2 separate regions of the Homo sapiens genome follow, and region 1 is linked to region 2. Evidence: promoter capture Hi-C in human tissues and cell types (Jung and others, 2019). All regions are on one chromosome and are shown on one strand. The core of a region is centred on a gene start or on the middle of the fragment in contact, and the rest is flanking DNA. Distances in the headings are between cores, read along the strand shown. Region 1 holds the start of LOC107986650 (a long non-coding RNA gene). Region 2 holds the start of REPS1 (RALBP1 associated Eps domain containing 1).

Evidence for each region. Contacts are between HindIII fragments. The study calls those that stand out against the background at their distance.
Region 1: a fragment that was not itself captured here is called in contact with the fragment with the promoter of REPS1 in region 2 in 4 of the 25 tissues and cell types used here (H1 embryonic stem cells, IMR-90 fibroblasts, aorta and 1 more).

The regions. Positions count from the first base shown.
Region 1 is chr6:138,892,266-138,899,589 of GRCh38, reverse strand. All of the region lies in intron 20 of ECT2L (epithelial cell transforming 2 like), which reads right to left. LOC107986650 (a long non-coding RNA gene) reads left to right here and starts at 3,960. Exons shown (of 2, transcript XR_001744381.2): 1 at 3,960-4,236. The HindIII fragment of the contact is 3,079 bases long and covers 3,465-6,543 here.
Region 2 is chr6:138,983,511-138,990,209 of GRCh38, reverse strand. It overlaps REPS1 (RALBP1 associated Eps domain containing 1), which reads left to right and starts at 1,957. Exons shown (of 20, transcript NM_001286611.2): 1 at 1,957-2,680. The coding sequence starts at 2,528. RefSeq lists silencers at 1,726-1,965, 2,156-2,455. The HindIII fragment of the contact is 5,323 bases long and covers 321-5,643 here.

The DNA of each region.
Region 1 (7,324 bases), core at 3,755-6,254, 94 kb after region 2:
GGCTTTTATTTAGTGTACCTCTTTCCCCTCTACTTTTCCACATAGCACAGCCTCACCCCTGTCTTCACTCAGGTCACCCAAGTTATCAACCTAGTACGTATCCTTCCACTGTTTTATACTTGCTCAGGTACACACACACACACACACACAATCTATGTACAGGAAAGGTTATTGCCATTATCTTACAAAAATGCTAAGATTTTCCCTACTCTTTTCTTGCTTTTCTCAATCAGCAATGGAAATCACTTCAAGTTAATGGATAGGACTTTTATTCCTTCTTTTTAATGACTAGTACTTCATGGTGTGGGTGCACCATCATTTATTCAACTCTTCTGCTATTGATGGGTGTTCTCCTTTGATGGACATTTGCTTTGTTTAGAGGCTTGGGTCCCCTCCTTTTTTTCCCTCCCTCTCTCTCTTACTTCATTTTTTTTTTTCTGTATTGCCACTGTGAATGTTGCAACAAACGATTTCTTACATAGAAACAAAGTCCTAATATTTGTTCTTCTGTCAGATACAATTCCTGAGAGTAGGACGGATTGGTCAAAGGCTACACAATAGTCCCCCCTTATTTATGGTTTCCCTTTCTTCAGATAAACCTTTACATAACTGTTACCACTTTATGTCATTATAATTGTTCTATTTTATTAAATATTGTTAATCTCTTATGGTACCTAATTTTTAAACTAAACTTTATCATAAGTATGTATGTATATCAAAAAACGTGATGTTATAGGGATCAGTACTCTGAGGTTTCAGCCATCTACTGGGGGTCTTGAAAGGTATTCTCATGGATAAGGGGGGACTGCTGTGTATATTTTTATCAAAGACCTCCAGGTTGTTCTTCATAAAAGCTGCTATAATTCATATTTATAACTCACTTTATATGGTAATGGCTTTAATTTGCTTCTGATTTACCTGGTGATTTTGTTAAAATGCAAATTCTGATTGAGTAGAGCTAGGGTGGCCTGAGAATTCTGCATTTCTGGCAAGCTCTCTGGTGATGCTGAGTCCACAGATCTGCAGGCCACACTTCAAGGAGCAAGGCACTTCAGTCATTTATTAGTTACAGCTATGCCTAAGAACTGGGCAAAGGACTGGACCAGGTAGTTTAAAAATGTCCAAGAGTACCATGTTTCAGGTTCAGCTACTTGGACAGCGTTAGGAAGTAGGAGTTGTTTTAGGTGTGTGGGTCAATGGAAACATAGTGGTCACCCAGCCACTAGAGCTAGCTCTTTCTTTCAAACATTTTCTTCTTGTCTTTGGTTATGATTTAGGCTGGAAGGAGTGGGGTGCTTCACATTTACTGATACCTTGCAAAAAATATTTCTAGATCGAGTCAATAGGTTATTCTGAGAATAAAGGAATGAATAGAACTAAGGATGAGGGAGAGAGGAAGCAAGAAAGGCAGGAGGTGCATTTTAAGTCTGTGATGGGCAGTCTGTGGTGAGTAGCCATTTTGAATAGGCAAAAGAATTCTACCATGGTCTTGCTTTTTTGGGGGAGAAGGGGAGCAATTTTTTTTTTTTACCATATCCATGATAAGAACAATTATTTCTCCTATCATAGAAGTTTAGAAACTGTTTAAATCTGTAATAAAACTGCTGTATCCGAATTATCAGGAAATATGCCAACAGAGTGCTTTGAAGAAGCAGCATTCAAAGAGGTACTTGCTTTGGTAAATTGATGTTCAGTTTTTTCCTTTGGAAGGGACAATGCCGATATTAGAGGTGAATGAAAGAGAATTCCAGTTTTGTGACCCACTTGGACCAGGTGGATGGTTGGCCCAGGGAAGGGATGGAGCAGCCACACTAACTTGAGCTTAGAATTGAGCCTTTCGTAATCCAAGGACATGAGTGAGGGAAAGAAACACACAATGAGGTTATTATTTCAGTCTGATTCTGAGAGGGCTATTTTATATATAATTTTTATCTAGAAAAACTTTTCAAAAGCCATTTACTAAATTAAGCCCCTCAAGATCTCCAACAATGTTTATCCACAGACCAAACACCAAAAACTCTAAAAGTTTAACCGTAAATACGGTTAAACTAAATACGCAAAAGCAGATACAGTCATCCCTTGATATCCATGGGGAATGTGTTCCAGGACCTCCTGCGAAAACCAAAATCTGAGGATGCTTGGTATTTGCATATAATCTGCATATTCTCTCTAGGTTACTTATGATATCTAATACAATGTAAACACTATGTGAATACTTATACTGTATGAGGTTTTTATTTGTTTTTTTAATTGTATTTATTTATTTTTTAATGTTTTCCATCCTCAGTTGAACCCATGGGTGTGGGGCCTGCAGATATGGCTGTAATTTCATCTTTAGTATTGACATAATGGAGCAGCTGCAGTGGCTCCTAGTGTTTCAGAAATCTGCCTCTGCTCACACTCAGAACCAACTCCAATGGTGGGTTTTGTTCTGAACTTGAATAGAGTTTCTTTGCTTATTTACAGATAGATTCAGTGATTCAGCAAAATGGAACACAGCTACTATAATGTACATTCTTAACTCCATTCTAGAAGTGTTTTGTTATTGTTGTTAAACTACTGTATTAGCCAGCACAAGAGACACAGAGAAAGGCAGGAAGTACCCAACTTGTATAAATACATAAAACTTTAAAAGAAAGTTTTAGGCCAGGTGCGGTGGCTCACACCTGTAATCCCAGCACTTTGGGAGGCCGAGGTGGGCAGATCACAGAGTCAGGAGTTTGAGACTAGCCTGGCCAACATGGCGAAACCCCGTCTCTACTAAAAATACAAAAATGAGCCAGGTGTGGTGGTGCACACCTATAGTCCCAGCTACTTGGGAGGCTGAGGCAGGAGAATCGCTTGAACCCAGGAGGCGGAGGTTGCAGTGAGCCGAGATCACGCCATTGCACTCCAGCCTGGGCAACAAGAATGAAACTCTCTCAAAAAGAGAGTTTCAGTACATGGAGAGTTTCAGTACATGGACAACAGCAGGTCATCAGCACCACTGTGAGCTGACCTGAGTCAAAACTGATTATCACCTAGCCTGGTGGATCACAGTGGCGTTTGGGGTCCCCAAAATGAGTCAATTCTGGACCAAAGTCTAGTATCCTTGAGAAGCCTGGGTACATTTTCTCTGTTGCATAGTTACCCTGCTAAGTGACTGTAGATCCCTTTGGGGAAAGCTAAGAGGAAAGTTTACAGTGTATCTTTTTGGCAGTATAATAGGATATTTCCCCAAGGAAAATTGGCCTGGGAAGTGGATGGCTCTATTTGATGAACAAGGCCAGGCCTCTATTCACCAGTCCTGCACTGGTGAATAGACCTTTGGCAAGACTCCATTGGAAGAAAAAAAGCATGCTTAAAAATCAGTAAGCTTTGGCCACGTGCAGTGGCTCACGCCTGTAATCCCAGTACTTTGGGAGGCCGAGTTGGGAGGATCATCTGAGCCAAGGAATTCAAGACCAGCCTGGCCAGCATGGGAGGACCCCATCTCATTAAGGAAAAAAAAAAAAAAATTCAGCAATGAAAATCAGTGTTTATGAAAAAAACGATAATACAGAAGTTCCAAGGTACAAAATATATTCTAAAAGCTTAACATACCCAAAATAATGGTCCATGTCCTCAGAGGAACAAATTGCCCTCTGAATTTCCCAGCTCTTAAAATAACTGTGTGACTTCATCTCTATTTTAAATTTCATTTAGGATGCAAACACTTACTCGTTCTTTTTGTGTCATAGTTATTGTTTGTTATTTGTGGCCAGGTGCAGTGGCTCACACATGGCCAGGATGGGTGGATCACTTGAGGCCAGGAGTTCAAGATGAGCCTGGCCAACATGGTGAAACCCATCTCTACTAAAAATACAAAAAAATTAGCTGGGAGTGGTGGCACGCCCCTGTACTTCAAGCTTTTTTGGGAGGCTGAGGCATGAGAATCGCTTGAACCCCGGAGGCAGAGGTTGCAGTGAGCCGAGATCACACCACTGCACTCCAGCCTGGGCAACAGAACGAGACTCTGTCTCAGAAAAAGAAAAATATATATATATATGTTTAGTAATTGTTACTATGTTAGTGAGATTATTATGAGGAAGGCTTGGTTCACCTTTCTACCTTCTGGTCCAATCACTGGAAACGGCACTGCCTGTGCACTGGGAGACCTGGTTCTAAATTCCAGACCAGCACTTATTCTATGACTTTAGGCAACTTAAGCCAGATTGCCCACCCATAACGTGGTTCCTGTCCTACCTGCCTCATCAGGTAATTGTAATTAAATCTATCAAATGAGAGAAGCTAACATATATGGTAAAGAGTAAAGCCTTATATGAGTTGGTACTGTATGTATAAATACAAGCAGAGTATGTTTCCTCTAAGTAAAAATTCCTGGTAGAAATCATGGGGATGGCATTCCTTGGGTTTTATGTGATTTTCTAAAATGACAGAAAACAAGGTTGCAGGCTAAGTATTGTGTGATATCTTTTTGCATTTACCTAATTTCAAAACGTTTTTTTTTCCCCTGTAGAGACGGGGTCCAACTATGTTGCCTAGGCTGGTCTAGAACTCCTGGCCTCAAGTGATCCTCCCACCTCAGCTTCCCAAAGTGCTGGGATTACGGGAATGAGCCACCACACCCAGTCAATTTCAAATATTAATTTGAAATTACATTTAAATTTATTAGCAAATAATATAAATGTAATCACTGAGACAGTGTCGTTGACCTAAAAGGAAGAAGCTGAGGCAAAATCAATATAAGTAGAGTTTATTTGGGCTAAGCTTGGGGACTGCAACCCTGGAGCATAGATTCAGTTACCAGGAATATACACCCCAATTAGTAGCATTTACAAGTGGATTTTTAAAGAAAAAGAAGAGGCAGTTCCAGAGTTACCAAGATTTTATACTAAAATAGCACAAGCTATTGATTGACCATAATTGTTCTTTGTCTACAATTTCCAGTATGTGAAGATAATGGGTGAGGCAGCCCAGGAACAATTGCCCTAGGCAAGCATGGATGGGGAGGTGTGACTGAAGTCCCATACTCATGTCTCTGGGCCTGGTAAATTTTTCATACCTCATACCTCATAGCTCAGAGTAGTGCCTATTTAAATATAAATGTACCTCACAATTAGAGCATAAAATGATTTTGGATTATCCTAAATCTTCAAAGTATTTTCATTTGTCCAAGTACTGTAGACCAAAGTCTAATTTCTGATAATTAGACCTCCAGCTTCCAGTCCACATGTAAAGAGCTTGGAAGTTGTAGGCCGGGTGTGGTGGCTCACTCCTGTAATCCCAGCACTTTGGGAGGCTGAGGCGGGTGGGTCACAAGGTCAAGAGATTGAGACCATCCTGGCCAACATGGTGAAACCCCATCTCTACTAAAAATACAAAACTTAGCTGGGTGTGGTGGCGTGTGCCTGTAATCCCAGCTACTTGGGAGGCTGAGGCAGGAGAATCGCTTGAACCTGGGAGGTGGAGGTTGCAGTGAGCTGAGATTGCGCCACTGCACTCCAGCCTGGCAACAGAGTGAGACTCCGTCTCAAAAAAATAATAATTAAAAAGAAAGAGCTTGGAAGTTGGTAATTCTGTCCTCACAACAACAACAAAAAGCTGAAGAACTCAGAATCAACAGCTTTTTTCCGATCCTTTATAGAATTGAAGTTATCACCCCAAAAGCTGGAATGATAGGCTGCTACAGAGAATCAAAGCTTATCAGAAACAGAAATTGCCTGCATGGAGTAGGGATGCTTGAAGGGTATTGGCTTAATTACTAGAGATAAAGTGTGGACTAGCTTTAGCATTTAATAACTCTGGGCTCACACAATGGTGTGAGTTTTGCCTCTAGGAGCCTGCCAGATTCTTGCAATGAAGAGCTAATAAAAATTTCCTTATTCTGGCTGGGTGCGGTGGCTCACGCCTGTAATCACAGCACTTCGGGAGGCCAAGGCAGATGGATCATTTGAGGTCAGGAGTTCGAGACCAGCCTGGCCAACATGGTAAAACCCCGTCTCTACTAAAAATACAAAAATTAGCCGAGCAGTAACAGCGTGCACCTGTAATCCCAGCTACTCAGGAGGCTGAGGCGGGAGAATCCCTTGAGCCTGAGAGGCAGAGGTTGTGGTGAGCCGAGCTCAGGCCACTGCATTCCAGTCTGGGTGAAAGAGTGAGACCTTGTCTCACAAAAAAAAATAAAAATAAAAAAATATATATATATTCTTACATGGTGGAGAGGAGAAAAGTACCATTTTGAAATATGCCCAGAATATTTTGTTCTTAACAAAGGCCTGACCTCAAGGGAAACTTGTACTAGAACCTAACCAACTGGGACTTTACCAGTGCCTAATCAACCTGGGAGAAGGGAAATACCCAACTCCAGCCACCTCTAACCTTACGTCTCATGTTAGAGGTGGGGAAAAAAAAACAAAAAAAAACAAAAAAAAAACAAAAAAAAACTGAGAAGCACTTGTGAAGGTCACAGTCCAGAAGTAACAGACTCAAAATTGATCATAGAACTATAGAATGTTTCTCCTCTGACATCTTAACTACCACAGCAGTAGGGCTCTGGTATAATAATGGGATTACAGCTAAAATAACTGTAAGGCTCAGACCCTATTTAAGAAGGGGTCTCTAAGGAAACCCAAAGATGATAGGGAGAGAAAAGGACACTGGAGAAAACTGTAGCCTCTGATGCCAAGCTGCAACAAACAGTTAATATGACCTAACTCCCAGCCAGGTAAACATAAAACTTCACACTGAAGACCTGTTTAGTTCCTTTTACCTGACACATCGTGTCTGCTATTCAACAAAAAGTTATAAGCGGTGCTGGCTGGGCATGGTGGCTCACTCCTTTAATCCTAGCACTTTGAGAAGCCAAGGTGGGCAGATCACCTAAGGTCAGGAGTTCGAGACCAGCCTAGCCAATGTGGTGAATCCCATCTCTACTAAAAATACAAAAATTAGCCAGACGTGGTGGCACGTGCCTGTAATCCCAGCTACCTAGAAGCCTGAGGCAGGAGAATTGCTGGAACCCAGGAGGCAGAGGCTGCAGTGAGCCTAGATTGCACCACTGCACTCCAGCCTGGGTGACAGAGTGACACACTCTGTTTCAAAAAAATTATAAGGGGTACTAAGAGGCAAAATACACAGACTGAAGAGACAGGGCAAGCATCAAAACTAGGCTCAGATATAGTAGAGATTTTGGAATTATCAGAGCAGAAACTTAAATATGATTAATATGTTAAGGGCTTTAATGGAAAAAGTAGACAACGTGCAAGAACAGACAGGTAATGTAAGAAGAGAGACCAAAACTCTAAGAAAGAAAAGATAATACCAGAAATAAATATAACAGAAA
Region 2 (6,699 bases), core at 708-3,207:
TGTCAGATAGTGAAAAGTGTTATAAAGAAAAAGAATTCAGGTTGGGTGCAGTGGCTCATGCCTGTAATCCCAGCGCTTTGGGAGGCTGAGGTGGGTGAGCCCAAGAGTTTGAGACCAGCCTGGGTAACATGGCAAAACTCTGTCTCTACAAAAGCCACATACACAAAATTTAGGTGGGCATGGTGGCCTGGGCCTGTGGTCCCAGCTACCTGGGAGGCTGAGGTGGGAGAATCACCTGAGCCTGGGAGGTCGAAGCTACAGTGAGCCAAGATTATGCCACTGCACTCCAGCCTGGGTGACAGTGGGAGACTCTGTCTCAAAAGAGAAAAAAAAGGAATTCAGATAAGGGGATAGTGCATGGTGGGATTATTTTACAGCAGCTGTTGCAGGAAGGCTGCTCTGAGGAGGTGACATATGAGCAGGGACCTGAAACCATATGAGAGAATACGCCATGCCATGGTTTGTGGAAGGACTATTTTAGATGGCAGGAACAAAGGCCCTGGGGCCGACAAGAGCTGCAAGGCCTAGGAGAGGTGGCAGAGAAAAAGATGCAAAGACAATTGTGAGCCAATCCCTACCCCATTGTGCTCTTTCTGTTTACACCTTTGGAAGGCAGCTGTCTGGGGGGGGTCTGATCACTTGCTGCAGGTGCCCTGAAAGGACACATGAGGGGCTGCTGTAGCAAACTGAAAGTCTTAGAGATGGGAAATAAGCTTAATGGATAGTATATACTTACCTTTATCAAATACTACTAGTCAAGTCAGAAGACATTGACAGGTCTAAAATCCCTTATCTTTCTTAAAAAATAGAAAGATAATAGAATGCCTGTGACTGTGTACATATTAACATTCTACAAAGACCTGGAGTGAAATGAGTAAATATTGACACTAAGTGGGATCCATAAAGGCTAGAAATAGCTTCATGCAAGCTTAGTTTAGATTTTGCCTCCAAATGAGGCAGGGCAGGTTTTACTTCCAAAGGGTTACAAAAAAAAGTCTTTGGGTTTTCAGTGCGCTTTGAATTTTGCAATTACAGATAAATGACTGGGAACCTGTAATAATTTCCTCATATGTGTCATTTATAGGATCCGCACTCTGGGAAACAACTTGTAGAAGACAAAATAAAAACCAGAACTCTGGGTAATTCTGCCTTAGCTCCCGTCTTTGAAGTATTTTATATTTGCTAAGTATAAATTCTTAAGATATTCTACTTGAAATAGCTGAAGAATCCCCTCTCTGGGACAGGTGCAGATTAAAAGAGCGCCACTCCATGATTTTCATAAAGGAGAAAATACGGAAGGCAGCCCCTGTGGGCAGCCCCGGGCCTACATGAGTTGATAGAGTTGAAGGTATAAATGTAGAGTATTAAGTTCCCAGTGACCGGAATGACCTGGTGAACAAAGAGGACAACTTTGCCAGTTTTCCCCTCTATTCAGCACATTTTGTTTCTCAGGTAAACATGGCTTGAAGCACGAGTGAGATGAAGCCTCAATGTTGGTGTCTACGTGGAGGCTTCCCGGATAGCCAGGATGTTCATAGCCCGGATGTTCATAGCCCTTCAGAACAGATGGAAATACTGCATTTATCTTCATCTGTACCGAAAAGGTACAGATAGAATGATAATAACCTGAACAAGGCTCCCCTTTCAATCCAATTATTCAGACGCTTAGGACCAGAAACTGCGAAACATAAAAACTGCAACCCGGATCTTAGTTATCTCGGTCTTAATGAGCTGCCGGCTGTTTCCCACTGCACCCCCCTTTCCGGGGGTCTTGCTGCTGAGATCTCCGCGCAGAGGGCGGCTCGGTCATCCCGCCGCCGGGCGCCGGCCACCAGGGGGCGCTGCGGCCTCCTCCCTCTCCCGGGAGCGGCCAAGCCAGCCCGGTGGGTGTTTCTCTCTCCCTCTCGCGCTCTCTCCTCCCGGCCTCACATCCGGGTCTGGAGCGCGGCCGCCGCTGTCACTGTTGGTGCGGGCGCGTCGGGGCCGGGCCGGGGCACTGTAAATGGCGGCGGAGGGAGGCGGAGCGGCGGCCACGCTCAGCCCAGATCCCCCGAAACTTTAGGTTCGAAGCCCCACAACTTTCCGGGAAGCGCTGCCGCTCCGGAGGCGTGGACGGAAGGGGAAGCCGAGGCGGGAAGTCTGGGGGAATCGGCAGGGAGCCGGGGAGACTCGAACCCGCGGCGGGGGCGGAGTCCGCCAGTGCCTCGCGCCTCCGCGGCCCCCGCCTCTTTCTCTGCACCCTCCCCGCGGCCGGAGCCGGAGCCGGAGCCGGAGCCGTAGTCGCAGCCGCAGCCGCAGCCGCGCGCCGGGCCTCGCAGGCAGCGGCGCGGCGAGCGCAGCCGGGCCCCCTCCTCGCGACCTCCGGGCCCTGTTGCTCGGGCGCACCTGGCGCGTGTGAGGCCGGGGCCGGCGTTTTCGGGAAGCTAGCAGGAGGCCGGGCCACGCGCAGCCCCTGCCGGCCCAGGTTCCTGGGGCCGGGCCCCGAGTAGTGCATGCGGGGCGGGGCGGCCGTGAGCCGGAGGCGAAGATGGAAGGCTTAACGCTGAGCGATGCGGAGCAGAAATACTATTCAGATCTCTTCTCCTACTGCGACATTGAGAGCACCAAGAAGGTGGTGGTCAACGGGCGGGTGCTGGAGCTGTTCCGGGCCGCGCAGCTGCCGAACGACGTGGTCCTACAGGTAACGTCGCGTCCCGGGGCCGGCGGGCGGCTTAGGCCTGCAGTCACTGGCCTCCAGGAGTGGGAGTGGGCGCCGATTCCTTGGGGCCCGGCGGGGGGCTGGTTCCTCGGGGGGTCCCCGCAGCGGGCAGGGGCCGCAGGTGCCCGGGAGGCCTGGACTCGCGCCGCGGCCAAGGGGGAGGGGGTTGCCCTTAGAGGACGGAACTCCTGTGGTGGGGGTCTGAAGAGCCTCAGCCGGTATCCCCCACGACCCTGAGAATCTGTGCTCTGTACTGCAAGAGCTATCTCACTTGAAGGATCTTAGGTTGTTAATGTGTGTGAATCCTAGAACCTGGCATATAGAGAGCTTTTCGGATCCTGCAGAGTAGTAAAGTTATCAGTATGGGCAAAATGGTTTTTTTAATTCTTGGATTAACCGAGAAGACGTGATAAAGTGAGTTCTATAGATTTAGGAATCGAAGAAGCAGTTTTTTTAAAGGAAGCAAAATTCTTAGGGAAATTTTTTAAAATGTGAACTACTTAGTAGTTTTACAAGTAGGCATACAAGAAGTTGTAATTATCTGTAGAACGTGTGTATGTGATGAGACTGAACAATGTTTTTCAACAGGCATTCGAAAGCATTTGTGGAACTTGTGGATTTGGGTTGGGAGATGAGTATTGAACAGCTGGTAGGCAGAAGTGCGTTATTTGCCCTAATCTGAAGCCCTGGAGGAGCAAACCCTGTAGGTTTAAAGCCTTTTTTTATCATATCTGCTTTTGAAACAGAGGACTTCCTAGAAGTTCTTATCTAATGTATGTGGTGAGCATTAATGCTACTCTGTTTAATGATTCATAGCTGCTAGTAGGAGTCTGTCTAAACAGTATGTTAGGAACAGGTTTTAAGCTTTCATCTTTTATATTGATCCAAGCTAGTTATCCACATCTCCAAAATTTAAAGCCACATGTATAGGTGTATGTAGTGGACTGCAAAGCATTGGACCAGGGTTTTGAAGGCTGGGTCCTTGACCCTACTCTGCTGTTAACCAGCAGTGTGACTTTGGGTCAGGCACTTTCCATTTTCAAGCATAAGTATGTTCATCCACAGAATGAAGGCAAGTTTCTTCCAACAAAAATTCTGTGAAGAATAAAAATGTCCACACACAGGTCTCTGTTTTAGAAGTTAAGTCTGCATTAACTATGACTAAGTTGAACGAGTTCGATCTTTTTAAATGGTCTTGTGTTTTACATTGCTTTTTTAAAGGTGGGATGTCTTACGTGCCAGTGAAGGGCAACGAGGAGTCCCAAATTCATCCTGTTGAAAAGGGACAAATAGTAAATATTTTGGGCTTTGCTGGCCACATATGCTCTCTGTTGCATATTCTTCTTCTTGTGTTTACAAAACACAAAAATGTAAAGCCATTCTTAGCTCAGGGAGATACAAAACAAAGCCTGTGGTCTGCTAACGAAGGGTGCTGGTAGTGTGGTCTATGGTACTCTCCTGTTACAGCTTTGGAGTAGGACTTAGAGATCTGGTCAGAACATGCTCATTAATCATACTCTTTTTGCTCCTTTTGAAGAAATAACAAAGTATACCTTCAAGTTAGGATCTAAATAAAATTAAGGAAAAGCCTTCTCTGTTCTATTTTAGTTTGTCTTTGAGGTGAGAAAGAGTTGAAATAAAACTTTCAATCTTTTTAATGGGTACACAAAGACTTTAGAACTTGAAATGTAATTTTTAGGACAGACACATTAGCATTAATGAATCTTTACTTCAAACATGTTTAATTCAGTGCAAGTTATTTTTATGTTTTGCTCAATTTTATTAACATTCAAAAAATAAATTTCCATTGTCTTTTGGCATAAAGAGAGAGCTTAAATATTCAGGGTTCAGTTACAAGTTGGAACTCCCTGGAGCAGAACTCTTACAGTTATGTATACTAAATAGCAGTCTAGATATCTTGAAGGCAATTTACTTAAAAATTGGTCTAAGACATAGAAATATGAGACAAAAGGAGAATATGTGCTTAATTCCCTTAAGGGAGTTTGGGATTGTCTGAAAACACAGTCCTCCATTGCTTTCTAAGTGGGAAACATTTGGGGCAGCTCATATCTAATGCTTAGTTCTCTACTTAACACTGGGCTAGGCATTGCAGGCATCAGAAGAGGAGTAAGAAGCTCTTGAGGATCTTGTCAATTATAGGAGTGCTCATGTATAACATAAGGTATAATGTATGCCATAGGAGAGGTGCCAAGTGTTATGAAATGCTAAGGAGGTATGACCAAGAAAGGCTTTTTGACTTAATTCAGATGGACTTTAAATTAGGGTGGAGTGAGGGGAATGGAATTATGAGGGCTTCCAGGCAGAGAAAAGTGATCAGAAGTGGAAAGTGTAGGAGCCTTTTCAAGGACTAGTGTTTTCGGGATAACAGAATATAAAATTAGAAAGAGGCCATATTGGGAAAGACTCTGAAGAAGGGCAGCAGATAACGATATTTCAGCAAGCAATGGAGACCCATTGAAAAGTTTTTGACTTTGAGTGGCAGAAAGGGTAAGGAATGACACTCTTTCAGTGGTCTGGATTGGGTGCTAGGTCATGGACATCCAACCAGGGTGACAGCAGTAGAATAGAAAGGGAGAGACTGGATATGTTATTGAAGGACTGCTGGGTAGCCACTATATGAGGTGCTTTGTGGAATAATGTTTAATTGAGGCCAGATTATCAAGGTTGGATGGAGAGCTTTGAACTAATTGTGTAGGTAACAGGGAGTGGTAGATTTAAGAGAAATGACTCATAAAGCAGTGCTTTAGGAGTCGTTTGTCAGGGCCACAGGAATTAGAGGAATAAAACTGTAGACTTAACTTGGGGGCTGATTTTGTATGGCAGATACGAAGTGAGAAACTGGGCCAGTGGTACTCAAACATGGGAATGAAGGTGACAATGGGGAAGAGGCATTTGGCAGTGTCTAGAGACATTTTGATTGTCATAACTAGAGGGGAGAGAGCAGTTCTACTGGCATCTAGTGGGTAGAGGCCAGAAATGTTGCTAAACATCCTGCAGTGCACAGGACAGCCTCCACAAGCATTATGTGCCCAAGATGTCAATAGTGCTGAGACTGAGAAACCCTAACCTGGACTATAGTGGTGGGAGTGGGACAAAAAATCAGATATGGGCCGGGCACAGTGGCTCATGCCTGTAATCCCAGCACTTTGGGAGGCTGAGGCAGGTGGATCACCTGAGGTCAGGAGTTGGAGACCAACCTGGCCAACATGGTGAAACCCTTTCTGTACTAAAAATACAAAATTAGCCGCATGTGGTGGCGCATGCCTGTAATCCCAGCTACTCCAGAGGCTGAGGCAGGAGAATCACTTAGAACCTGGGAGGAGGAGGAGGTTGCAGTGAGCCAAGATCGCGCCACTGCACTCCAGCCTAGATGACAGAGCAAGACGCTGTCTCAAAAAAAAAAAAAAAAAAAGAGAGAGAGAGAGATGGTAGAGATTATGAAGGTAAACGTGATAGGCCTGGGTTATTTGGCAGTGTTTTGGTGAGAATACAGTGGGGCAAGGATTATTCTTTGGACACCACTCACAGTTAGAAAAGGGGCAGGAAGAGGGCTTACTTTTTAAAAGAGACAATGATGAGTTTGGTTTCAGACATTCTTAGATGGCAATTCAGATCTCTTGGAGACAGTGGGAAGTGGGTGGAGATTTGTCCACCCCAACTGCTGGTTCTTACAGCAGTTCAGGTTCAGAGGTTCGGGATTTCTTCCTCTGTTTTGCTCACCTAAGTGTTTAGGGACGGGAGACAGTGTCACATAGACTGGGCATGCACATACATATCAGGACCTTGGTTGGTACAGTAGTTTTCGGTGTTTGTTAGTAAAAGTTAGGAGGAGACTGAGTCATCTGGGGGCATGAGTGTAGAGAACAAATAACACCGAGTCCAGAACCAAACGAGGAAGGAGCTGGCATTTATCGAGTGCCTATTATGTTCCTTTAACCAGGCAAATCATTTTCATGGAAGAACTCATTTGATTCTTGCAA